4 separate regions of the Homo sapiens genome follow, and all the other regions are linked to region 2. Evidence: promoter capture Hi-C in 16 types of primary human blood cells and fetal thymus (Javierre and others, 2016). All regions are on one chromosome and are shown on one strand. Each heading gives the region's core, a stretch centred on a gene start or on the middle of the fragment in contact. The rest is flanking DNA. Distances are from core to core; before and after follow the strand shown. Region 1 overlaps SUFU (SUFU negative regulator of hedgehog signaling). Region 2 holds the start of ELOVL3 (ELOVL fatty acid elongase 3). Region 3 overlaps SUFU (SUFU negative regulator of hedgehog signaling). Region 4 overlaps SUFU (SUFU negative regulator of hedgehog signaling).

Region 1 (5,577 bases), core at 312-2,811, 290 kb after region 2:
TCAGGAGTTCGAGACCAGCCTGGCCAACATGGTGAAACCTGTCTCTACTAAAAATACAAAAATTAGCCGGGTGTGGTGGTGGGCACCTGTAATCCCAGCTACTGGGGAGGCTGAGACAGGAGAATCGCTTGAATCCAGGAGGTGGAGGTTGCAGTGAGCCGAGACTGCATCATTGCACTCTAGCCTGGGCAATAAGAGTGAAACTCCATCTCAAAAAAAAAAAAAAATTAGCTGGGCATGGTGGCACACACCTGTAAACCAAGCTACTTGGGAGGCTGAGGCAGGAGAATCGCTTGGACTCGGGGGCCAGAGATTACACTGAGCCGAGATCTCGCCACTGCACTCCAGTCTGGGTTAAGGAGTGAGACTCTGTCCAAAAAAACAAAACAAAGCAAAACAAACAAACAAAAAGAACAACTGAGTGGTGTGGTATTGTAAGTGACTACCAGGCCAGAGTGGTGCCAGGTAGGTCAGCGCTGGGAAAGTTCCTTCTCTTCCTCAAGAGACTTGGAAGCCTTTATGGGTTTGATGCAATCTGATCTCTCAGTCCCGGGATTTTTCCCTGTTCAGCCCACCCTTTTGGGCTCTCCTCTTCCAAGCTGTGCTGTTATCTATTTTGAATGCTATTCCCCATACCTCTCATGTCCTGGGTCTGAGTTTGCTAGCCTCTCCCTTATCCACCTTTCTGATTCAGGGGTCCCAACTCTGGCCTTTGGCCCTTGACTCCTGAATTCATTCATGTATCTTGCCTCTGAGGTATTCAGTGCAGCTTCATTTCTTGTTTCAGTTCTGATGTTGTTCCTGAGATGTGTCTGGTGGGATCTTATCCTCTATGACCTCAGCCCTGAGGAATGGTATCCTCACCCGTCCAACTAACTTTGCAGCTTGCTGTCCTGCCTACCAAGCTCTTGAGAACCAGGCTGTGCAGCACACTCACCAGCAGAGCTATCTTGAGTCCCCTGTACAGGCAGAACATTGGACAAGATGATGTGTTTGAGTGTGGAGACAATGAAGAATCTGACCGAGCGCCTGCCCTTAAAAATGCAGCATGTGCTTGGTAGGAGATGGTGAGGTCCTTGAGAAAGAAGATGACAGTGAGGATTGGGACTGGGAGCAGCTTCCTGTCTCCCTGTGACTTTGAGGCTCTCTCCCCTCATCCTGTGATCTTCAGTGTTCCAAGAAACTTTAAACATATAATTATTATTACAAACAATTATAGCCCTTACTTTGTATAAGGCACTTTTCTAAGTGCTTTATATAAACTCATTTAATCCTCAGAACAACTCTATGGTGTAGGACTTATTATCCTTATTTTACACATAAGGAAACTGAGATGCAGAAATGTTAAGGAACTCATCCACCCAGCCAGTGAATGCTGGAACTGGGATATAAACCCAGGCAGTCTGGATCCAGTAGTCACCACCTCCTTTTTCTACCTCCTGCAGAGAGCTGGAGAATTCTATTCAGAATTATGCTGCTAAATTCAAAGTTATCTTGGATTAATGGAATGAAATGATCAAGACTGAGTAGAGTTAACCAGAAAGTGCTTTGTGGGGGGAAATGTTGAGCTGGATGTAGAAGCTATCTATCTAACTGTCTGTCTGTCTGTCTATCTATCTATCTATCTATCTATCTATTTATTTATTTATTTTTGACACAGGGCCTGGCCCTCTCGCCCAGGCTGGAGTGCACTGGCTCCATCTTGGCTCACTGCAACCTCTGCTTCCCAGGCTTAAGTCATCCTCCTACCTCAACCTCCTGAGTAGCTGGTACTGCAGGCATGCACCATCATGCCTGGCTAATTTTTATACTTTTTGTAGAGATTGGGTTTTGCCATGTTGCCCAGGCTGGTCTCAAACTCATGAGCTCAAGCCATCCCAAAGTGCTGGGATTATAGACGTGAGTCACCGCACCCGGCCTGGAAGCAGCTTTTAAAGAAAGGGTCTGGCCGGGTGCGGTGGCTCACACTTGTAATCCCAGCACTTTGGGAGGCCGAGGCAGGCGGATCATGAGGTCAGGAGATCGAGACCATCCTGGCTAACACCCTGAAACCCCGTCTCTACTAAAAAAATAGAAAAAATTAGCCAGGCGTGGTGGCAGGCGCCTGTAGTCCCAGCTAGGCGGGAGGCTGAGGCAGGAGAATGGCATGAACCCGGGGGGCGGAGCTTGCAGTGAGTGGAGATGCGCCACTGCACTCCAGCCTGGGAGACAGCGAGACTCTGTCTCAAAAAAAAAAAAAAAAAAGAAAGAGTCCTTCAGGGCAATGGCAGGAGGGTAAAATGGGACAGCAGGTGACAGGTGTCATCTCTCAAGTCAAGACTTCACCAACCAGGCTGGGCATGGTGGCTCACTCGTGTAATCCCAGCACTTTGGGAGGCTGAGGCAGGTGGATCACCTGAGGTCGGGAGTTCGAGACCGACCTGGCCAACATGGTGAAACCGTCTCTACTAAAAAAAACCACGAAAATTAGCCGGGCCTGTTGGCGGGCACCTGTAATCTCAGCTCTTCAGGAGGCTGAGGCAGGAGAATGGCTTGAACCCACGAGGCAGAGGTTGCAGTGAGCTGAGATCATGCCATTGCACTCCAGCTTTGGCAACAAGAGAGAAACTCTGTCTCAAAAAAAAAAAAAAAAAGTCTTCTGCAACCTTATCGTAGTCATTTACAGTAAGTTGCCAGGAAAGTCTGCAACTTTTAAAAACATAAAAATTTCTGGCTTAGATGGCAAGTTCCCATGGTCATGCTGCTGCTTCTGTGGTCAGGGATGTGCCCAGCATCTCAGTGATCCTTATATCAATGCAGATAGTCATTTAAAATTTTTTAAATTCCTTTAATGATTTATTTTTAATCAATAGACTTTATATTTTTGTGGGGTTTTTTTGAGATGGAGTCTCGCTCTGTCGCTCAGGCTGGAATGCGGTGGCATGATCTCAGCTCACTGCAACCTCCGTTTCCTGGGTTCAAGCAATTCTCCTGCCTCAGCCTCCCGAGTAGCTGGGATTACAGATGCCCACCACCACGCCCAGCTAATTTTTGTATTTTTAGTAGAGAGGGGGTTTCGCCATGTTGGCCAGGCTGGTCTTGAACTCCTGACCTCAGGTGATCTGCCCACCTCGGCCTCCCAAAGTGCTGGGATTACAGGTGTGAGCCACCGCGCCTGGCCAGTTTCCCCTATTATTAACACCTTGCATTATTGTGGTTTATTTGTTATCATTGGGGAACCAATATTGATACTTATTACTACCTTAAGTCCATAGTTTACCTTAGGCTTCACTCTTTGTGTTGTACAGTTCTTTTTTCTTTCTTTTTTTTTTTTTTTTTTTTTTGAGGCAGAGTTTCACTCTTGTTGCCCAGGCTGGAGCACAATGGTGCGATCTCAGCTCACTGCAGCCTCCGCCTCCTGGGTTCAAGTGATTCTCCTGCCTCAGCCTCCTGAGTAGCTGGGACTACAGGCACCCGCCACCACGCCCGGCTAATTTTTTTGTATGTTTAGTAGAGATGGGGTTCTACCATGTTGGCCAGGCTGGTCTCGAACTCCTGACCTCAGGTGATCCAACCACCTCGGCCTCCCAAAGTGCTGGGATTACAGGCGTGAGCCACCGTGCCTGGCCAGTTCTTGGGTTTTGACAAATGCATGTCATGTATATACCATCACAGCACCATACAAACTAGTTTCACTGCTCTAAAAATTCCTTGTGCTCCACCTGTTCATTCCTCCCTCCCCCGAAACCCCTGGCAACAACTGTTTGGTTTTTTTTACTATCTCTGTAGTTTTTGCCTTTTCCAAAAGGTCATAGAGTTGGAATCAAATAGTATGTAACTTTTGCAGACTAGCTTCTTTCACTGAGTAATATACAGTTAAGATTCCGCCGTGCCTTTTGGTGACTTGATAGCTCCTTTCTTTTTATCACTTGATACTATTCCATTGTTTGTTATGTACCACAGTTTATTCTTTCACCTTTTGAAAAATATCTTGATTGCTTCCAGTATTTTTTGGCGATTTTTAATTAAGCTTCTATAAACATTTGTATACAGGTTTTTGTGTGGACATACGTTTTCAACTCATCTGGGTAAATCCCTAGGAATGTAATGCTAGATCGTATGTTAAGACTATGTTTAGCTTTATGAGAAGCTGCCAAACCATTTTCCATAGTGGCTATACCATTTTTCATTCCCACTAGCAATGAATGAGAGTTCCTATTGTTTCATGTCCTCACCAGCATTTGGTATTGTCTGTTTTTTGGATTTTAGCCATTCCAATAGGTGTGGAGTGGTATCTAATTGTTTTAATTTGCAGTTCTCTCATGACATATGCTGTTGAGCGTCTTTTCATATGCTTGTCTGTCATCTGTATATCTTCTTTGGTGACATATCTTTGTTTTTCTTCCTAACCTCCAGCCACTCCCCATTCTACCTCTGCCCATACATACCTTTTTCTCACATCATGGGTTCAGACCATGGGGCTAATTATGCTTTCTGGCATATTTTTCTTTTGGTCACTTCTCAAGCCGTTAAATGAGTTAGATCCGCTGAGTAGGTGCTGGGCCTACCTCTGAATTCCTAAGTTGCTGTTGGTTTTAACTGGGGCTGGCTCATGAGTTCTCCACCTTATATTCTCCAATGATGGTGTCTTCCATAAAGTGTAGCTGCTACTGAGATTTGCAACCTCAATCCTAAGGTTTGAGATTGATTCTGCCCTCCAGTACAGACTGTAGAGAGACTGGTATGCAGATTTGTCCATTCCATACCCTATTGGGCTTAACCTTGCCTTTGATGAGAAATGCATATACCATGCTCCTTTGAAGCCCCAACCAGATCTCAAACTCTCATAGTTGAACCAGCATCAAGAAGACAAAGTCTAAAACTTTCCTGGCCTGGCCTTTTGCTGTTAAATTCGTTATTGTTATCCAATGTCTTAGTTGTAATTTTGCTTTTTTTCACTTATAAAAACAGTTGAACCATTTTACTAAAAATGTTGGGAATTAGAAATGGGAGAAAACAATTACTGATAATCCTATCACCTTTTGTTTACAATTCTATGTCTGTTCTTATGATGATTTCTGTAAATGATTCTATAAATAACTGGGAGTGACGCTGTCCCAGTTGTGCACAGGGCTTTTGCTTTGCGTGCATCTCATCTTCTTAGTGAGGACTTAACATCTTCTGAGGCTTCCCTGCTACCTGCTTAACGCTGTTGTCTGAATTCAGCTTGCCCACTGTTGCTAGGGTTTCTAGATTCTGAAAACAGCACATTTGCTTGGGAAGATAGCTCTTACCCACTGCCATGTTACATTAACGATATTCCCATTTTTCCTCCTTGACGTCTCACAGCAGTGAAGAGTGGTTTAGGTAGTATATGTATGAACTGTGCTGTTTGCCTACTTCTCAGATCACAGCTTTACTATCACAAATGGTGGTAGCTGTCCTGAGGGGTTGTGTTCTTCCAGTTGTTGCTTTTATTGTTATTTTCCCCTTAGAACAGTCAAGATTTGGTGATCAGTGTCACCTGGAATAAATACCACACGCCTCCTCCTTTCTCTCTTTCTTGGGTGCGTGGTACAGAAGACTGAGATTGGCTTA
Region 2 (6,207 bases), core at 2,170-4,669:
ACAAAACAAAACCAGTGACCACACAAAAGATAGGCTTGGAGTATTTATCCTGGAGAATAAATAATGTCACTCAGGTTTACATGCCAAGGATTTCATCCATTCAATCACTTGCGCAACAAATATTACCTGGGTTATGCTCAGGGTTAGGAGAATGATGAAAAAAACAGACATATTCCGGCAGTGGCTCATGTCTGTAATCTCAGCACTTTGGGAAGCTGAAGTGGGCAGATCACTTGAGGTCAGGAGTTCAAGACTAGCCTGGCCAACATGGCGAAAACTGTCTCTACTAAAAGCACAAAAATTAGCAAGGCGTGGTGGCACACATCTGTAGTCCCAGCACTCAGGGGACTGAGGTACGAGAATCGCTTGAACTCAGGAGGCAGAGGTTGCGGTGAGCCAAGATCAGGCCACTGCACTCCAGCCTGGGCGACAGAGCAAGACTCTGTCTCATAATAAAAAATTTTAAAAAATAGACATAGTCCCTGCATTCATGGAGCTCAAGAACTAGTAGGAAAAACAGGCATTGATCAAGAAATCACAAAAACAACTAATTATAAACTCTCACTGAAGAAAAGAAATACCATGCTCTGAGAACAGTTTATATAAAATAAGGGTACCAGACCAAGTCCAAGGGTCAAGGAATGTTTCCTCTAGAATATAATTTCTGAAGATTTTTCCTCTTCTTTTTTCTTTTTTGAGACAGAGTCTCGCTCTGTTGCCCAGGCTGGAGTGCAGTGACACAATCTCTGCTCAGTGCAACCCACGCCTGCCAGATTCAAGCAATTCTCCCTGCCTCAGCCTGCCAAGTAGCTGGAATTACAGGTATCCGCCACTACACCTAGCTAATTTTTGTATTTTTAGTGGAGATGGGGTTTCACCATGTGGGCCAGGCTGGTCTTGAACTCCTGACCTCAGGTGATCTGCCCACCTCAGCCTCCCAAAGTGCTGGGATAACAGGCGTGAGCCACTGCACCTAGCTTTTTTTTTTTTTTTTTGAGACAGAGTCTCACTCTGTCACCCAGGCTGGAGTGCAGTGGTGTGATCACAGCTCAGTGGCACGATCACAGCTCACTGCAGCCTTGACCTCCCTGGCTCAAGTGATCCTCCCTCCTCAGTCCCTGAGTAGCTGGGACCACAGGTGGGCGCTACCATGCCCAGCTAATTTTTGTACTTTTTGTAGAGATGGATTTTCACCATGTTGCCCAGGCTGGTCTCAAATTCCTGGGCTCAAGCAATCCCCCCACCTCAGCTTCCTACAGTACTGGGATTACAGGCGTGAGCCACCGTGCCCAGCCCCGAGTGTTCTTCTTTCCCTCTTCCACATACACCTCCTCCAAGCCTCACCATTAAACCTCACAGGGAAAGACAATGTTAAATATCTTCACAGAGAAATCCAGGACTGAGTATATATTCTCCATATGCACTTGTAAACCTCCCATAATGATTCACCTTGCCATTTCCATGTGTCTAGTCCACAATATCATTTTATCTACATTATCTGGCTTGCATACTAATCACAACCTTGTGACATAAGCAGGCGAGTATGACTATATGCATTTTTTTCTGAAGTAGAATGTGACAAAGGCTAGGTAACTTGCCTAAAATCACATGGCTCATTAATGGGGGTGCTGGGACTTGAACTTGGGTCTTGTAAGACCTAGATGGCATTATTCTTGTAATATTCATTCTTTTATTTATTCATTCATCCATAGACATGTATTGATCACCTTTTGATTAGCTGTCAGGCTATATATGGAGCCATCAGGAACCACTGAAGGTTTTTTTTTTTTTTTTTTTTTTTGAGACGGAGTCTCACTCTGTCACCCAGGCTGGAGTGCAGTGGCACGATCTCTGCTCACTGCAAGCTCTGCCTCCCAGGTTCACGCCATTCTCCTGCCTCAGCCTCCCGAGTAGCTGGGACTACAGGCGCCTGCCACCACGCCCGGCTAATTTTTTGTATTTTTTAGTAGAGACGGGGTTTGACGGTGTTAGCCAGGATGGTCTCGATCTCCTGACCTCATGATCTGCCCGCCTCGGCCTCCCAAGGTGCTGGGATTACAGGCGTGAACCACCGTGCCCGGCCGAACCACTGAAGGTTTTTAAGCAGGAAAGCAGAGCTGTTTTCTGGATGAGCAAACAGAAAGTAGTGGTTTTCCAAGTACAGTCTGAGACAACCTATAGGACCAGAATCTCTGCAGTTGAGGCTCAGGAATCTGGTAATCAGCCAGGTATAGGAACTCTTTTCTGATTGCAATGCAGTGAAGAGCAGAAGCACTGTATTAGAGAAAGAGGCAGTGCAACCAGGTAACGTGACCAGGTGAGAAGTGATGAGGTACAGAGACAAAGAGATGCACTTTTGAGTCACTTAGATGGCACTGATAGGACTTCCACTACACCCTCGCATAGACAGTGGCTGAGGTTCAGGAAATAGAGCTGGGGTTCCTACTTGGATCCTCTGGCTCTAGAGCTTTACTGCACATAGCCATTTATACCCACATCTTGATTTTAATTATTTTATATCTATGTTTCTTAGCACTTTTTGCAAATTTCCACCTTATCTCAAACTGCCCTCAAGCCTTGTATTTCTCCTTCGCTTTCATAAAACCTAGGAAAGAAATAAGGGACAGCCAAGTAAAACTTTTAAAAGTTTTAGAACATTTATTTCTTTGGGGCTGGTTACACAGGCGAGAAAGAAGTAGATTTGGTTAGGGAGAGAAAACAACAGGCCTTGGGGAGATACACTGGCTCTCCCCCTCCCTAAACCCTAAGAGGCCTCCAGGAAACCTGAAGACAATAATTCCAGAAGCCCAGAGGGTGACCCCATTTCCTCTCTCCATGGTTATTACTGTCAGTCTGGAGCAGTTCAGGAATTCAGGAAACTATAAAGAAACCACAACAGCCTCAACAACCCAAACATCAACATCAACAACCTCAACAATAAAACTCCTTAAAATTCATCTCCTTCCACCCACTCACAACCGCAGACTCGAAGCTAGGAGGTGGAAGGGACTACAGAAGCTCTGCGTTGCCCAGGTTAGTATTTGCTCATCACAGGCCTGGGTTTCCCAGGATCTCAGGGAGCCTGGAAACTGACGCCTCCATTTCTGGGTGGGAGCACCAAAGCCTAAGGACACCTTTCCTCTCTCTTCACTGCTAAGCAGGTCAAGATTAAAGCAAACCGAGGCAAAGGCCACGGTTGACAGTTCCAAGGGAACCCGCAAGGCCGCACAGGATGGGGTGGACGTTTTACGGGAGAAAAGGCTGGGGAAGTGGGCGGGCGATGGCCTACGACGGGACTTGGGGCGGGGTGTGCGAAACGCCTGGCAGGCGGGCCCTTGAGTATGACCAATCAGAATGCGGACTGCGTCCCAGGGGCGGAGCAGAGGCGTATCTTGGTCGAGATTGGATAGCGGCGGGGCGCAGGAAAGAGGTCGCGCCAGCCCGGGCAGGCAGCTTTGCAAGTCCGCGTTATATATCGCAGTGGCTGCGCCCGGGATAGCTGGCTGCGCCGCCGCGCACATGCCTAGGTTCGACGCCCTCCTCCCTTTGCCCAGGAGTTCCTTCTGTCCCGGCTCTGTTCCGTCTCGCCCCGAGGTTCACGCCATCCTCGGAGCCCCAGCCTTTCACCCAGCGCCTCCAAGCTTTGGACCTTGACTTCTGCAAAACTAGATGGTCACAGCCATGAATGTCTCACATGAAGTAAATCAGCTGTTCCAGCCCTATAACTTCGAGCTGTCCAAGGACATGAGGCCCTTTTTCGAGGAGTATTGGTGAGACTTTGGGAGAGGGAAAGGCCATGCCAGGGCCCCGGGGCCGGGGCGCGAGGGGGTGGCATTGAATGCCCACAATGATTTTCTTACAGAGCAGAGTTATGGGACTCCCTTGTACTGGCTTCACACTACCTTTGTCCGAGGTGCAGGTAGTATGTGGCACCTCAAAGAGATTAGAGCTGAAAGCAAGCAAGCAGAAATAAGAGGATGAGGGAGAACGTGGAAATATACAGAAGTCAAAGAGAGCGTGTAGTGAGAAGGGTCTTGGAGGCGTGAGGTTGATCTGAAGCCTTACTAGATGACTTCCCCGTCCTTTGTGGCTGTGTGTGCGCGCGTGTGTGCACAGTGCAGGGCCCGGGGGACAGCCTGCCCTTTACAATTATCCCATCGTTCCCCAGGTGCTCCACCGTTCCTGCTGTGGAGAAGGAGGCGAAGTCAGAGAGCTCTTCCAAGCTTTCCCCAGGAAGAGCTCTCTGGCTTTGCCTTAAAGCTCCCCAGAGGTTTTGGAGGCTGACTTTATGCTCCAACCAATTTGCCATACCCCAGCCAGGGAGAAGCTATTGCCACATTCTTCTTACGCCACAGCCCTGGTATGCTTCTAGGAGCCCCAACCAGGGAGAAGCTATTGCCACACTTCTTACACCACAGCCCTGGGCTGCTTCTAGGCGCGGGCCAGACAGCCGTCACCCACCTCTAACCCCACTGAGAGAGCAATAATCACAGAAACCTTGGACATAGCTCCTGCCCTGTGCTAGATACTTTGTATACGTTAATACCCCCAGGAGAGATGTAGTATTCGCGCTCTACAAATGAGGAAGCCAAGGCTCAGAGAATTAAGTTGGTTTTTCCAATGTCACATAGCTAGTAAGTGGCAGAACTGGGACTCCAACCCAGAGCACTCACCTGGAGAGATGAGTGGGCATTTCTCTAATCAGCACCCACCCATGAGCCCATCCCTCTGCCTTCTGCTTGCCAGGGCAACCTCATTCCCCATAGCCCTGATCTACCTGGTTCTCATCGCTGTGGGGCAGAACTACATGAAGGAACGCAAGGGCTTCAACCTGCAAGGGCCTCTCATCCTCTGGTCCTTCTGCCTTGCAATCTTCAGGTAAGACCCCATCCCACTCCCTGCCTCTTCTCTAGATCTTAGACCACCATTCTATCCCTTGAAGCTTTCCCGATTGCATCAACCTCCATCCTGTCCCCAAGTTGCCTTGTAACACTCTCCCCATCTCATTCTCGGCTTTAGTTCCCCTCCCAGCCTTCACCCTCTTCTGTTATATTATCCTGTTTTCCTTCTCTTTTAGACCCCTACCTGGTGGTCTCTGCTTTGTCCCTCTTGCCTTCGTAGAGTCTGTACTCGCAACTAATTTCTCCAGCCTCTAATAGTGTCACCTCCTAACACCCTCTCTCAAGACCCTCCAATAACTTCCCCATATTTTCTCCCCCAAACTCCTTCAGTCTTCCCCTATCCCTCTACACATCTCCTCCCAGGCTCCTAACCCCTCCCAAGAACCCCATTCCTTAACTCAACTTTCAGTCCCATCCCCCTGCATTCCCTGATCTTTCTCCAGCCCTCGTCTCCTCTAGACTACTGATTGGATCTACCAGATTGGCTTCAGGATCTCAGGAGCTTTGACCCACCCCCTGTGGACAGGTGGGGAGGTGGTAGAGCTTGGAACACAGTAACCTGGCCAAGCCGGGGGAAGGGTGGATTATTGGTGCCTGGGGATGACACTTACACCATCTTCCTTTGTCCCATTTCAGTATCCTGGGGGCAGTGAGGATGTGGGGCATTATGGGGACTGTGCTACTTACCGGGGGCCTAAAGCAAACCGTGTGCTTCATCAACTTCATCGATAATTCCACAGTCAAATTCTGGTCCTGGGTCTTTCTTCTCAGCAAGGTCATAGAACTCGGTGAGTGGCAAAGCTTTGTCTTTCTGGTGCCTTGTGAACTGCATCCTTCCTCAGGGCCCTCCCTTCACCCATCCCATGGAGGGTCTCTTTCCTACCCTTGGGTCCCAATAATACCTCTCACCCAAGCCCCTCTACAGATTCTCTGCCACAAAGACCCCCTTCCCTCCCCTGAGAATTTCTCCCGTGTCCCTACATCCAGTGCAGAGGGTGGTCCCAGCACTGGGTGGTATGCCAACTATGACTCTCCATCTCCCAGGAGACACAGCCTTCATCATCCTGCGTAAGCGGCCACTCATCTTTATTCACTGGTACCACCACAGCACAGTGCTCGTGTACACAAGCTTTGGATACAAGAACAAAGTGCCTGCAGGAGGCTGGTTCGTCACCATGAACTTTGGTGTTCATGCCATCATGTACACCTACTACACTCTGAAGGCTGCCAACGTGAAGCCCCCCAAGATGCTGCCCATGCTCATCACCAGCCTGCAGATCTTGCAGATGTTTGTAGGAGCCATCGT
Region 3 (5,902 bases), core at 2,936-5,435, 400 kb after region 2:
CCCAGCCATTCTCTGCCAGTCCTGATGGGAAGCCCCAGGCGTGGGAGAAGACGCCCAGCAGCTGTTCCAAGTGGGCTCTGCTGCTCCAGGCCAGGCTTGGGAAGGTGCTGCCGAGCTCTCCTCTGGGCAAGCCCTGCCTTCTGCTACCCATTTGGATATTGTGTAGAAGATGACTTGGGAATCCCCAGCCCATGCCCTGGGCACCTCCTCTTTGGTGCCTCTACTGTTCCTCCTTCCACGGGTGAACCCAGGCATACTTATTCTCCCTGGAGACCTTTGCTTGGACTGCCCCGAGACCTTGTTGTCCAGGGGGACACCCATTAAGGTTTAGAGCCCAGCAATGCGCCTGGGGAAGTACCCTCCCTTGTAGGAAAGGACTGTGATGCCGCCCTGTGTCCCTGGCAGCCCACAGCCAGAGCAGGAGTCTGAGCCCGCTTCTGGCCACCAGAGCCAACTTTTCACCGCCCACTAAGAACAGGAAATGAGCGAGACCTGTGCCCCAACTGCAGCCCGCTACCTGCCGCACCACACGCCTCTGTCCCTGACCTGGGTTGGGGGTGTTCTCCAGGCTGTTTTCTGGCTTTTGTCTGGCCTGTGGAGTGGGGGTGGGAGGGAAGGGATGCAGACAGGACTGCTTCCCCGTCCCTGCCTCCTCCACTGCCATCGTGGGTGCCAGAGCAGCTCCTTGGCAGGCTCTTCCACTGTAAACAACACATTTCCTTCCCTGAGAGGAGGAAAGGGAGGGAAAAGAAAGCCAAATTTGTTGGGAAGCAAGTACAACGTGTCAACATGAAGAACAAACAATGCCCTGGACAAAGTGTGGATTGTCATACCAAAGGGAAGGAGTGGGCATTGTCAGCCACTCTTTGCAGACTCAGAAATATCATTGACCACAGACATCTGAATCGGCGTCAGATCTGCAGCAGCTGGGCCCCTGCCTGCAGTGCAGCCTGGCTTGCCCAGGGCAGGCACTGACACAAGATCACTTTTCGGGTTCCTTTCTGGAACTTGCTGGGGCCTGGGGAATTGGGAGGTTGTTGACAGTCCTCCCTCACCACCACCCAGCCAAGCTGGTTAAGGCAGCTGGTGTGAGCCCACTGGAGTAGCTGCTGGCCTAGATTCCAAGCCCCCCTCCCTGGCCAAAGGTGGGAACTGGGGGTAACCAAGATCCATTGCCCCCCTCGCAGCTCAGCCCGTTTGATGGTGGTGAAGCTACAGCCACCAACTCACCCCTGTTGGTTAAGCCTGTGCCCAAACCCCCTTTCCCTGTGGGCCTGAGTATTTCCCCAGCAGCCCCTCACCATGATCTCCTGGGGCACCACTTAAGAATACAAGTGCTGGCCAGGTGCGGTGGCTCACGCCTGTAATCAGTCCCAGCACTTTGGGAGGCTGAGGTGGGTGGATCATCTGAGGTCGGGAGTTCGAGACCAGCCTGACCAATGTGGAGAAACCCCATCTCTACTAAAAATACAAAATTGCCAGGCACGGTGGCTCACACCTGTAATCCTAGCACTTTGGGAGGCCGAGGCGGGCGGATCATGAGGTCAGGAGATCGAGACCATCCTGGCTAACACAGTAAAACCCCGTCTCTACTAAAAATACAAAAAATTAGCCGGGCATGGCGGCGGGCGCCTGTAGTCCCAGCTTGTTTGTCTGCTGTTAAACAGCAGACAAAACTCCAGCCCCTGGCCGGGCCCAGTGGCTCACGCCTGTAATCCCAACACTTTGGGAGGCTGAGGCAGGAGAATGGCATGAACCCAGGAGGCGGAGCTTGCAGTGAGCCAAGATCATGCTACTGCACTCCAGCCTGGGTGACAGAGTGAGACTCCGTCTCAGAAGAAAAAAAAAAAAAAAAAATTAGCTGGGCATGGTGGCACATGCCTGTAATCCCAGCTACTTGAGAGACTGAGGCAGGAGAATCACTTGAACCCAGGAGGCAGAGGTTGCGGTGAGTTGAGATCGTGCCATTGCACTCCAGCCTGGAAAACAAGAGCAAAACTCCGTCTCAAAAAAAAAAAAAAAAAAAAAAAAAGCATGGGCCTTGGCCTTACCCCAGAGTATTCTGATTCAGGAAGTGTGAATGGGGCCTAGCATCGCCATATTTTCAGAAGCTTCCCAGGGGAGTGTGCTGCTCAGATTGGTTGAGGGTCTTCCTCTCTTACTAGAGGGTCTCCTCCCTCTGAGGGCTGTTTGTGTACAAACATAAGTGTTTTCTGCCTGGCTCTTGGTAAGTGCAAATATCAGTGAGTGCTGTTATCAATATTATTTCTACTGCTACTTTCTGGGCTAGAGAACTGTCAAGATATATGTATTCACTAGGCTGGCCTGGGAATTTGCCCCACCGTCCCCACTTGGGAACCATCTCTGGGCATTGGTTTGCCTTCCTTTTCATTGGCCAGTCTGGTTTTTTAGCAGTGTCTGTGACTCTCAGGCTTCTAGCCCTCTTAAGTTGAGCAGGTGGCCAGGAAATGTGTGGCTGGTGGAGGTTGGGACTGCTGATTTTCCAGGTCATTGGTAAAAACCAAAGCTACCTTCACCTCCCTCATCAGAAGACAGAGAAGTTATCCCCATCTATATAGGCTTCTACAGTTGGGGTGTCTTCCCCAGACAGGAAAAGAGCATCCTCTATCACCATGAGATCAGATAGCCGTTCCTCTAAAGTCCAGAGCCTTGAGCCAGGCGTGGTGGCTCTTGCCTGTGATCCCAGCACTTTGGGAGGCCAAGGCGGATGGATCATTTGAGGTCAGGAGTTCAAGACCAGCCTGGCCAACATGGCAAAACCCCATCTCTACTAAAAATACAAAAATTAGCCGGACATGGTGATGGTCACCTGTAATCCCAGCTACTCGGGAGGCTGAGGCAGGAGAATCGCTTGAACCCAGGAGGCGGAGGTTGCAATGAGCCAAGATTGTACCACTGCACTCCAGCCTGGGCGATAGGGCAAGAGATTCCATCTAAAAAATAAAAAGAAAAGTCCAGAGCCTTGTCTCCTCTGGGTACCTACCCTTGGGCAAAGTGGGGATGATAGTCACCTCCCTAGCAGAACTGCCATAAGGATTCAATGAAATGACACTGATCAAGCTCTTAGCACAGCGCCTAGCACATGGTGGAGGTACTGCTTCTGCTATTGGCCATTTTTACTGTCATTTTTATCATCACCATTCCCATTATTATTCGTGACAGAGCCAAGCAGCTCTGTAGGGACCCAGTGAGCCTCAGGAGTGCCAAGCCCCAGAACTGCACAGGCTTTTCCCACAGTTGCATCACAAGGGCAAGTCTGTTACTCGGGAGAGCTCCCAGGAGCTGCCCCATCTTAGCTGTCTATCTCCAGTGTCCTGTTGATAAGATCTGTTAACATTCTCAGCTCCAGGTCTGAAATATACAAAGAACAGGGCCTGTTTGTTCAATCCAACCTTCTAAGGTTTAACTCCCAAAGGAAATTAAATTAGGTGCCTGGAGCTATGACAGTCTGTCGTGTTTCTTTGCAGAGAATGTCACCTTTAATATCATGTAGATCTCATGTATAATTTTTCCCCTTTAATTCTTTTAAAATAACGTGAAGTTTCCAGCGGGAACCAGCAAATCACCAAAAGCAAAAATGGAGGAGCAGCTAGGGTTTGTCCTCATTTTTGATCTGGCCATCCCCTCCCCCAACCGAGTCCAAAATAAGTCCACACACAGATGGTGCCGCGCATGGTCGTTGCTCTACTAAAAGCCACCATAACTCACCCTCTCCTTAGCACCAGTTCCAGACCTTTGTCAGGGGAACCAGCTTAGAATTGAACTCAGTGTTGGTGGCATTACGTTTCCTTGAAGAATAACTCTGGCGTCTCACTGGGTGGCCACAGCCTCTGTGAACCCTTGCCCCTCTTCCTGTCCTCCCTCCACCCCATCTCACCCCCAGCACTTGTTATAGTCCCACATCTATTTACTGATCTGGCAGAAAGCCCCTCCCTCCAAGTTATTTGTGAGTTAGAAATTAGCCCAGCCCGGCCCAGACTGGAGCCATTGTAATATAATTGGGTTTTAGGTATGCTTGTGTTTGTGCTAGCATTTGCAGAGATGGCAACGAGCCCCGGAAATGCCAAAAATATGAATGTAACTTTTGTATTGCTTGAGCAGACTGGTGATAACTGGTGGGGAAACTGAACTTTTGGGGAGGACACCCCTGGGATAAGAGAGTAGGAGGAGCAAGGGCTTAGGCTGTGAGAGGGAGTACGTGTATGGCTGGAGTCTGTGGGCAGAGTCGGCCAGTCCCACTTTGGGGAATTAGGAAGAACTGTAGGGGTGCACCTCCCCGAACTTTGCCAACTTTGCCTCTCCTGCTCTGTCTCTAAGCCTTGTCTCTGTCCTTGGTCGGGGCCCTAGCTCCTAGAACAGAGAGTTTGGTGAGGAGACGTGGACCAGTGGTCAGAGTTATTTTGTTCCTGCTATGGGCTTGGAGCCTGGGAAGGCTGGGTCTCTTGTCTCCTTGCCAGCCAAAAGAGGGTGCTTGTCCTGGTGGGAAATGAGCTGCCTTCATGCCTGTGTCCCTGGAAGGATGAATGGATGAGTTAGTGTCCTGGGGGTGAGAGTTCAGCATTCGGGAGCAGTACTCCAGGCACTAAATTGAGAGTCCAGACATGATCAGGATATGGTCTTAACCACTCACAAGCCGTGTGACACTGAGCAAATTACATAACCTGCCTGTGCCTGTTTCCTCCACTGTAAGGAGACATGGAGATGAGCAGTTAGCATGCCCGGTATGATGGCGGCTTTTCTGCTCACTTGGGGGTAGTGTTCTTATTTCTCACTCCCTCCTCCACCCCGTCCACTTCTTGCTTTAGAGACCTCCGTCCTGTGAGCTCCCGAGCCGTCCTGTGTGCTCACCTTCCTGTGTGCACTCCTTCCTTGTTATCTCACAGCGTGGAAACTTTTGTTCTTGGCAGCTGACAATTCCCAGGGGAAACCTGGTGGGTATTTTTTCAAGTTCTCAATTCTCCTCCTCACAGGGAGGGTTTCCCCTCAGAGGAGCCCCTCACCTGGATCTTCACCCCATTATCTTTCTTCCTTTGTGCCCTACCTGGGTGCTCAAGGTGTACGGGAGAAGACAGGTAGAGCTGTGGCCTGGGGGTACAGAAGGGTCTGCAGTGGAGGGAGGCTGGGAGGCCCTGGGGACAAGGACAGGGAGGGGGAGGGGTGAAGGAAGGGGTCACAGTTGGAAGAGGAAAGACACCCTCACCCAGGGCGTGGTGGGGTGCAGACCTGGGATCAGCTTGGCCTGGCTCTGCCTAGCAGCCTGACGAGAGGGGTGGGTGGGGAAGAATGGCCCAGCAGATTGAGGAAGGCCGGTTTTAGAGGGCCTGAGAGCCCTTGGACGTTGGTATTGGCTGTGAAAACTTCTTTAGCGGATGAAGTTGGTGTTTGTGCCAGCCAAATAGTGGGGCCAGACTCAGCATCAAAGCGAGAGGCAATGAGGTGTCAGACTAGAACAGCAACGTGGAATGCTGGGAGGTGACCTAGAGAAGAGGAACCTCAAAGAAGGCTGGAGGAACTCAGTGGCTGATCGAGCACAGCAGGTCAGGGGCTTGGGAGCTTCCAGCCTGGGAGGATGTGGCTACTGTGAATGGGAATGGAAGTTGGGAGTCCCTTTGTCATCTGTAAAATGAGACGTTGGTCCACAATCTCCAGATTCTCCAGCTCAGACATTCTTGGATGTACCTTCCAGGGCACTTCCAGATTCCAGATAGGGCTTGTATTCCAAATCCAAACAGTTTCCTTTTGTCCTTCTACGGTGAGGGGCAGAGGGGGACACTAGAGCCTGACTGGGCAGCAGCTTTAATTTAATTTTTTTTCCTTTTAATTTTTCTTTTCTGTTCCTTTTTCTTCCTGAGATTCCTTTTTACCGGCCCCACCAGTGTTC
Region 4 (5,531 bases), core at 1-2,500, 370 kb after region 2:
ATTGCTGGGAGCCCACTGGGCCACTGGGCAACTTAGTGGTGTCGTTGCAGACACAGAGCAGATCCGGGAGACCCTGAGGAGAGGACTCGAGATCAACAGCAAACCTGTCCTTCCACCAATCAACCCTCAGCGGCAGAATGGCCTCGCCCACGACCGGGCCCCGTAAGTTCCCCAGTGTCCCTGGGCTGGAACAAGAGGACGACTTTTTTCTGAAGGGCCTGTCCCTGTGGATTGCATGAGAGAGAACAATGCACATAGCCCTTGCTGGATGGGCCCAGGATCTCTAGGCTTAAGGGCAGGCATGGTCTGGGGCACACAGATCTATCTGTGGGTCATAGGAGAGGGCCTCAGAGGGGACCCAGCAGACCGTGAATATTAACATCAGTAAATATTTACATGAGCCGTGTGAACAGACAGGAGGCCAGGTTGGGGAGAAATCTGACTTGGGGCCTCCCAGCCTTGTGGGAGCCCATTGTGCTGAGCACGGTTCCCTCCTTATCTCAGTCTTGGCCAGAGTTGCCCTTCCTTCCTTCCTGGAGCCTGGTCTCCGGCTGATAGCTGCAACCCTGGGGGCCTCCCTCTCTGGCCAGCCCCATACTGGATGCCTGTGGCTGAGGCCCTTCTTCCTGCCTCTCTTCCCTGGGGCCCAGGGAAGGGAAAGGAAGTCTTTTGCAGGCCTCTGCTGCCTGTCCAGGGGCCCCTGTAGCCCTCCGGAGAGACTGTGGCCACCCTAGAGGTCAGATCCGCTTCCTGCCAACCTCTCTTCCTCTGATAGAGGGGATGAGTGATAGGCAGGGCTGAAGCTGGGCACCCCCCTCTGCCCTTAGTCCCAGGGCAGCTCTAGGGAATAGCTGCTGGCAGGAGATACCTGGGGGCTGGCAGCCCAAAGCAGGAACCTTGCCTGCCAGGGAGGAAATTGCTGTGCCTTGGGCTGAAAGGGAGGTTGATCATCCTGCAAGACCAGGGTGATCTAGCCTTCTTCTATGAAGTCTTTATTACACATTTGCTGTCTGACAAGCTCGGACCTAGGGGGCCATCTGGGGTGCACAGGCTCTTCCTTTGGGAGAACATGAGTGAAACAGTTACCTTTTAATGGTGTGCATCTGGCTGTCGATGTGATTTGTTGGAAATGGCTGCTTCTCTGGATTCTAGCTCTAGTTGCTGATCGTGTTTCCCAGAAGTAGTAATGCTTCAGTGCACTACAGAAAAGACAGGTCCACAGGATCTGGGGTAGTTAGGGAGGGCATCTTGGAGGAGGAAGAACATAGCATCGACCTTGAGGGCACCTTAGAATTTTAATAAGCAGGGGAAGGAACTCAAGAGGATAGCACAGGGGAGGCCTGGCTGGTTAAAGTTGAGGCTGCCTGCTGGGACCTGACTGGAACTAGAGTTACTCTGGGAACAGGGCTGTACTGAGAGTTGAGCTCTTTGGCAAAAGCCTGGAGAAGCCTCCACCGCCACCTCAGAGCAGCTTTTAACTCCGGCCTGTAGGTTTCTCCAGCCAGCTGCCCTGAAGTAGCTGGCTGGAGGCATCCTGATCATCCCCTGGCAGCAGCAGATGGCCACACCAGGTCATACGACATATGGAAGCTCTCTACCTGTGAGTCTGGACCCTGTCCCGGGTCTACACTCCTTCCCATTCCCTGAGCTTGGCTTCTCGCTTTGGGCCTCCTTGGCACTGTTGGCAGGCCAGAGGTACTGGAAGGCCTATAACATGGACACAGTCTCAGTCCAGATGGCTCTCTGCCTCTGGAAGCCTGGGGTTTCTAGGCAGAAGGGCACAAGCTCCTGCAGAGATACAACCTTCTTGCCCCGCTTGTGTATCTGGAACAGGCCTGAGATCTCACTCCCTGGCTTGGGGGCACTTCCAGCTACTGCACCCCTGGACATTGCAATGGGGCACAAGGCTCTGTGCTCCTAGATATACACATAAGCCGAGACTCTCAGCCTACACCCTAACTGGGCAGTCGGGTATTGGTTCTGGCCCAAGGGTTCTCTGTAAACATAAGGCAGAGAGGCTGCAGCTTCTACCCTTTGGCTTGAGTTGGCTGAGATACAGAGAGATGGGTGAGAATAGATTCGAGGTGCCGGGGTTGTCTCCCCTTCCTGAAGGTTTAGTGCCCAGTAAGGTCTCTAAAGCACCAGGACCTGTAGTCTGAGGGGAATAGAATGTTTCCTCTGAGGCTGTCAGTATTGGTTACCAATTTGTTAGCAATTGGTTGAGAAATGGTTTCTCCTCCTCCTTTGCCAAGAACATTCTCCAACACACCCCTCAAGCCTGTCAGACTCAAGTTTCCTGTTATCTCAGGATCGATGATGATGGACTCAGTTCAGATCAGTGAGCGTGACGGTAATATCTGTGCTGCCCACTCTGGGACCTGACCCCATTTCACATACACCACATGGATTGCAACTGAGAAAGCTGACCCAAAATGTGCTGGCACCAGTGTTTGCTCCTCTCCCTGTTGGGGGGCAGCCAGCGTGGGCCATATTTTGTCTGCGGGTCTGATTTCCCCTTAGTCAGGACTTCTGGGCCAGGGAGCTCTTATGCATGGGTCTTCGCGGGTTTGTCTGTGGTCTAAGGAAGATACAGAGCTAAATCAGAGGCTCAGAGCAGCTGATCAAGCCTGGGCAATAGCAGCCGGGTGCCGGCCTACTTGGGGGTGTCAAGCACTTGCTCTTTTCACACTTCAGCAGCAGCTAAAACCTTATTAGTGCTCATTCTGTGCTAGGTAATGTGCCAGCTACTATGTGCTGCCATTCATTTATCTTATCCTCATAGCCATCCTGTGGTCGATAATCTTACATATTCCCCTTTAATGGATGAGGTACAGAGAGGCTAATAAGTATCTTTTCCAAGGTTGGAAAGGGGTAGAGCTTAGTTACAGCCATCTATCAGCCATTAAAATGGATGTAATCTTCCTTACCCCATTCTCAGGGACCCCATGGGGGACACATCAGACTGTGTCTCTGAGAAAATAATGACCTTTACTGGTAGAATTCATCTAACTAGTTGCAGCATGAATCAGGACCTCTCACATGGCACCAAGGACAAGGCCAAAGCCTCATATTAGAAGCTTATTGGGCTTATTTAACTAAACTCTAGGGGAGTTAAATAACTCCTATGAGATGCCATGAGCCTTGATGATTCCAAATCCCAGAAATAACAAGCTATGTCATAATTGGCTCATTTATACCAAAATTATTTTGTGACACAAGGCCTTACTTTCTTCATGTGCAGAAACTAAAACAACCCTCTCTCTGGTCCCTCTACCACCTCAGGGCTAGGGGATTTCTTTCCATTTTGAGGGTCTATTTCTTCCTTTCCAGAAAGGCAGGCCCCCTGGGTAACCCGCTCCTCTCCTACTCTTCATTGCCAGCCCTCCTCCCACTGCCTTCCCGGAAGGAGAGTCCTTGGCCCTCTTTGGGGCTTCTTCAGCATTTCACAACCCTTGCATTCCAGCCATGAAATCTGTATCTGGCTTTTCCCAAGATGATCAGTTGAGAAAAGCCTCCTTCAGCTTGCTGGCGCCTCCCTTCCCACTGCCTGCTCGGGTGAGTTTGGGAAGGATGGGAAGCAGTTCCTTTGTGCCACATGAGGACAGCCTGGCTTAAAGACTGTGCCTGCCAATATCTGTAGAGATTTGAGGAGGGAAAAGTTCCTGGGCATCCTCTCTGTCTGAGGTCACCTGGTCAGACATGGTCTACGGAGTCTGGTCTCTCTACAGTGCACAGAAGATACGTGTGGTCAGGTGAATTGTGTGTAGAGGTTTTCTTTTATTTATTTCTTTTTTTTAGACACAGGGTCTCCTTCTGTCACCCAGGCTGGAATGTGGTGGCAAGATCATAGCTCACTGCAGCCTCGAGCTCCTGGCCTCAAGTGATCCTCCTACCTTGGCCTCCCAAAATGCTGGGACTACAGGCATGAGCCACCACACCTGGCCTGTATTTCTCTAAACTGTTGCTCAGATGCTGGGAACCTGCACCAGTATTCTAGGGCCACCTCCTCCCTCAGCCAGTGACTTACCACCTGAGGCTGGGAACTCTTAGGAAGCTCTCTGAGTTGTGTGCCCTCCCAGAGAGGGACAGGGCACATGCAGGTGTGCACACTTATGTTAGAGGGGAAAAGTTCCTGACTATGGGAGAAGCACTTTGTAGTTGAGGCACCTCTAAAAAGCGAACTCACCATCACTGCTGAGTTTCTCAGTCTTCTAGAATCACACCAGCAGCTTTTAAGACCTTTAAAAAATTTTTTTTGCCTTAATTTCATGGAGAATTAAGATTCTGTACCATGAATTCCTCTGCTGTAACATTCACATTTGCAACACCTCCCCAACATACACACACACACATATACATAGATTTCTCTCTACTCTTAGGAGTGTCTCTGCACTTGTCTGTTTGGCCTTTGATTGGGGTGACTTTGCTCCCTCTAATTCCCATCTTGAATACCTTGTAACCTGGCCAGGGAGTCATCCTTTAGAGAAAATTGTGTTTTGTTTTGCTCAGCTTGTGAGGTCCATGAAGATTAATTAGAGGAAGAAAATATCTTGTTTGCATCCAACTTACCAGTGAATTGGGGTGAAGGAAGGTGAGTTTCCATCTGGGGAAACAGCTGGGCTGTGGCTGGTGCCGCTCGCACGAAGGGCAGTGTTGGGTAACCCTGCTTCAAGGGGTCTCTCCTGTCAGCGCAGTGGCCAGCCTGGAGCCCTCTCTGTCACGTTGGCTTCCCTCACACTCCCACGCTGGGGAAGTACAGTTGCTTGCACTGGAAAGAAAGCCCAGAAAGAAACAGCCCTTCTCTTAGGGCCCCAGCCAGACTCTGCAGGGCTGATGAGAGGAACAGCCCAGGCCTCTCTGCTCCCTGCGTCCTGGACAGCAGGCTCCTTTTTGCCTCCCTCACTGTGATCCATGTTGTCATGCCAAGTGCCTTTACAGGCCTTTCTCAGAAATACATATTTGAAAGGGCAGAGCAAGGGGCTCCACAGCAAGTCTGGCATGGGTAAATTTCTGTTTTAACTCCGTTCTTTGCTCCGCTTCCCCAAAGAGATGAAGTCACGGCCATTGTTAACACCTCAACTTCAGAATTCCTTGCTGGTGCTTGAATTCTCAGTCCAAACGCTGCATCCCCCTCCCTCGAGTTGCACAATCAGGGGTATTTTTATCGCCCATCCTTGATCCTCGGTGTCACCCAACACTTCAGCAGTGAGTCACTTCTCCAGGGAAGGGAAAAGGAAGGCTCAAAGGTAAGAGCTAGAGAAAGGAAATGACTCAGTGTCTCAGAAAAAGGAAAGCTGGGGTTCTGGCTAGAGTAAGCTCATTCAGGAGAGTAGGGGTCCTAATCTCCCACCCAAGTCAGAGGGTAGGGCTGGGGATGGCGGCCCCTGGTGCCCAGAGGAGTTAATAGTTGACTAGGAAATCCCCTAACCTTGATGCAGATTTTACTCACCCTGACTTCTTTAGCCATACTCTGTCCCACCATTTCATGATTTCATGATCACATTTTACCTTTGGGATATTCCCGATGAAAA

What was found. The method cuts DNA at HindIII sites, captures the fragments that hold promoters and counts their contacts. A CHiCAGO score of 5 or more calls a contact.
Region 1: a fragment that was not itself captured here is called in contact with the fragment with the promoter of ELOVL3 in region 2 in 1 of 17 cell types (activated CD4 T cells); the score reaches 6.6 in activated CD4 T cells.
Region 3: a contact is called between a fragment that was not itself captured here and the fragment with the promoter of ELOVL3 in region 2, in 1 of 17 cell types (activated CD4 T cells). The highest score is 5.4, in activated CD4 T cells.
Region 4: a contact is called between a fragment that was not itself captured here and the fragment with the promoter of ELOVL3 in region 2, in 7 of 17 cell types (activated CD4 T cells, erythroblasts, naive B cells and 4 more). The highest score is 8.3, in activated CD4 T cells.

Annotation. Positions count from the first base shown.
Region 1 is chr10:102,516,912-102,522,488 of GRCh38, forward strand. All of the region lies in intron 2 of SUFU (SUFU negative regulator of hedgehog signaling), which reads left to right. Among named protein-coding and RNA genes, the nearest start is that of SUFU, 16 kb to the left of the region's middle. The HindIII fragment of the contact is 4,891 bases long and covers 1-4,007 here.
Region 2 is chr10:102,222,880-102,229,086 of GRCh38, forward strand. ELOVL3 (ELOVL fatty acid elongase 3) reads left to right here and starts at 3,420. Exons shown (of 4, transcript NM_152310.3): 1 at 3,420-3,770; 2 at 4,747-4,878; 3 at 5,538-5,689; 4 at 5,946-6,207. The coding sequence starts at 3,670. RefSeq lists a silencer at 3,402-3,451. The HindIII fragment of the contact is 5,656 bases long and covers 1-3,639 here.
Region 3 is chr10:102,620,985-102,626,886 of GRCh38, forward strand. The region is part of intron 10 of SUFU (SUFU negative regulator of hedgehog signaling); the gene reads left to right. Among named protein-coding and RNA genes, the nearest start is that of TRIM8-DT, 19 kb to the right of the region's middle. The HindIII fragment of the contact is 4,153 bases long and covers 2,110-5,902 here.
Region 4 is chr10:102,599,383-102,604,913 of GRCh38, forward strand. It overlaps SUFU (SUFU negative regulator of hedgehog signaling), which reads left to right. Exons shown (of 12, transcript NM_016169.4): 8 at 51-162. Among named protein-coding and RNA genes, the nearest start is that of TRIM8-DT, 41 kb to the right of the region's middle. RefSeq lists enhancers at 370-1,120, 4,338-5,531. The HindIII fragment of the contact is 3,650 bases long and covers 1-3,075 here.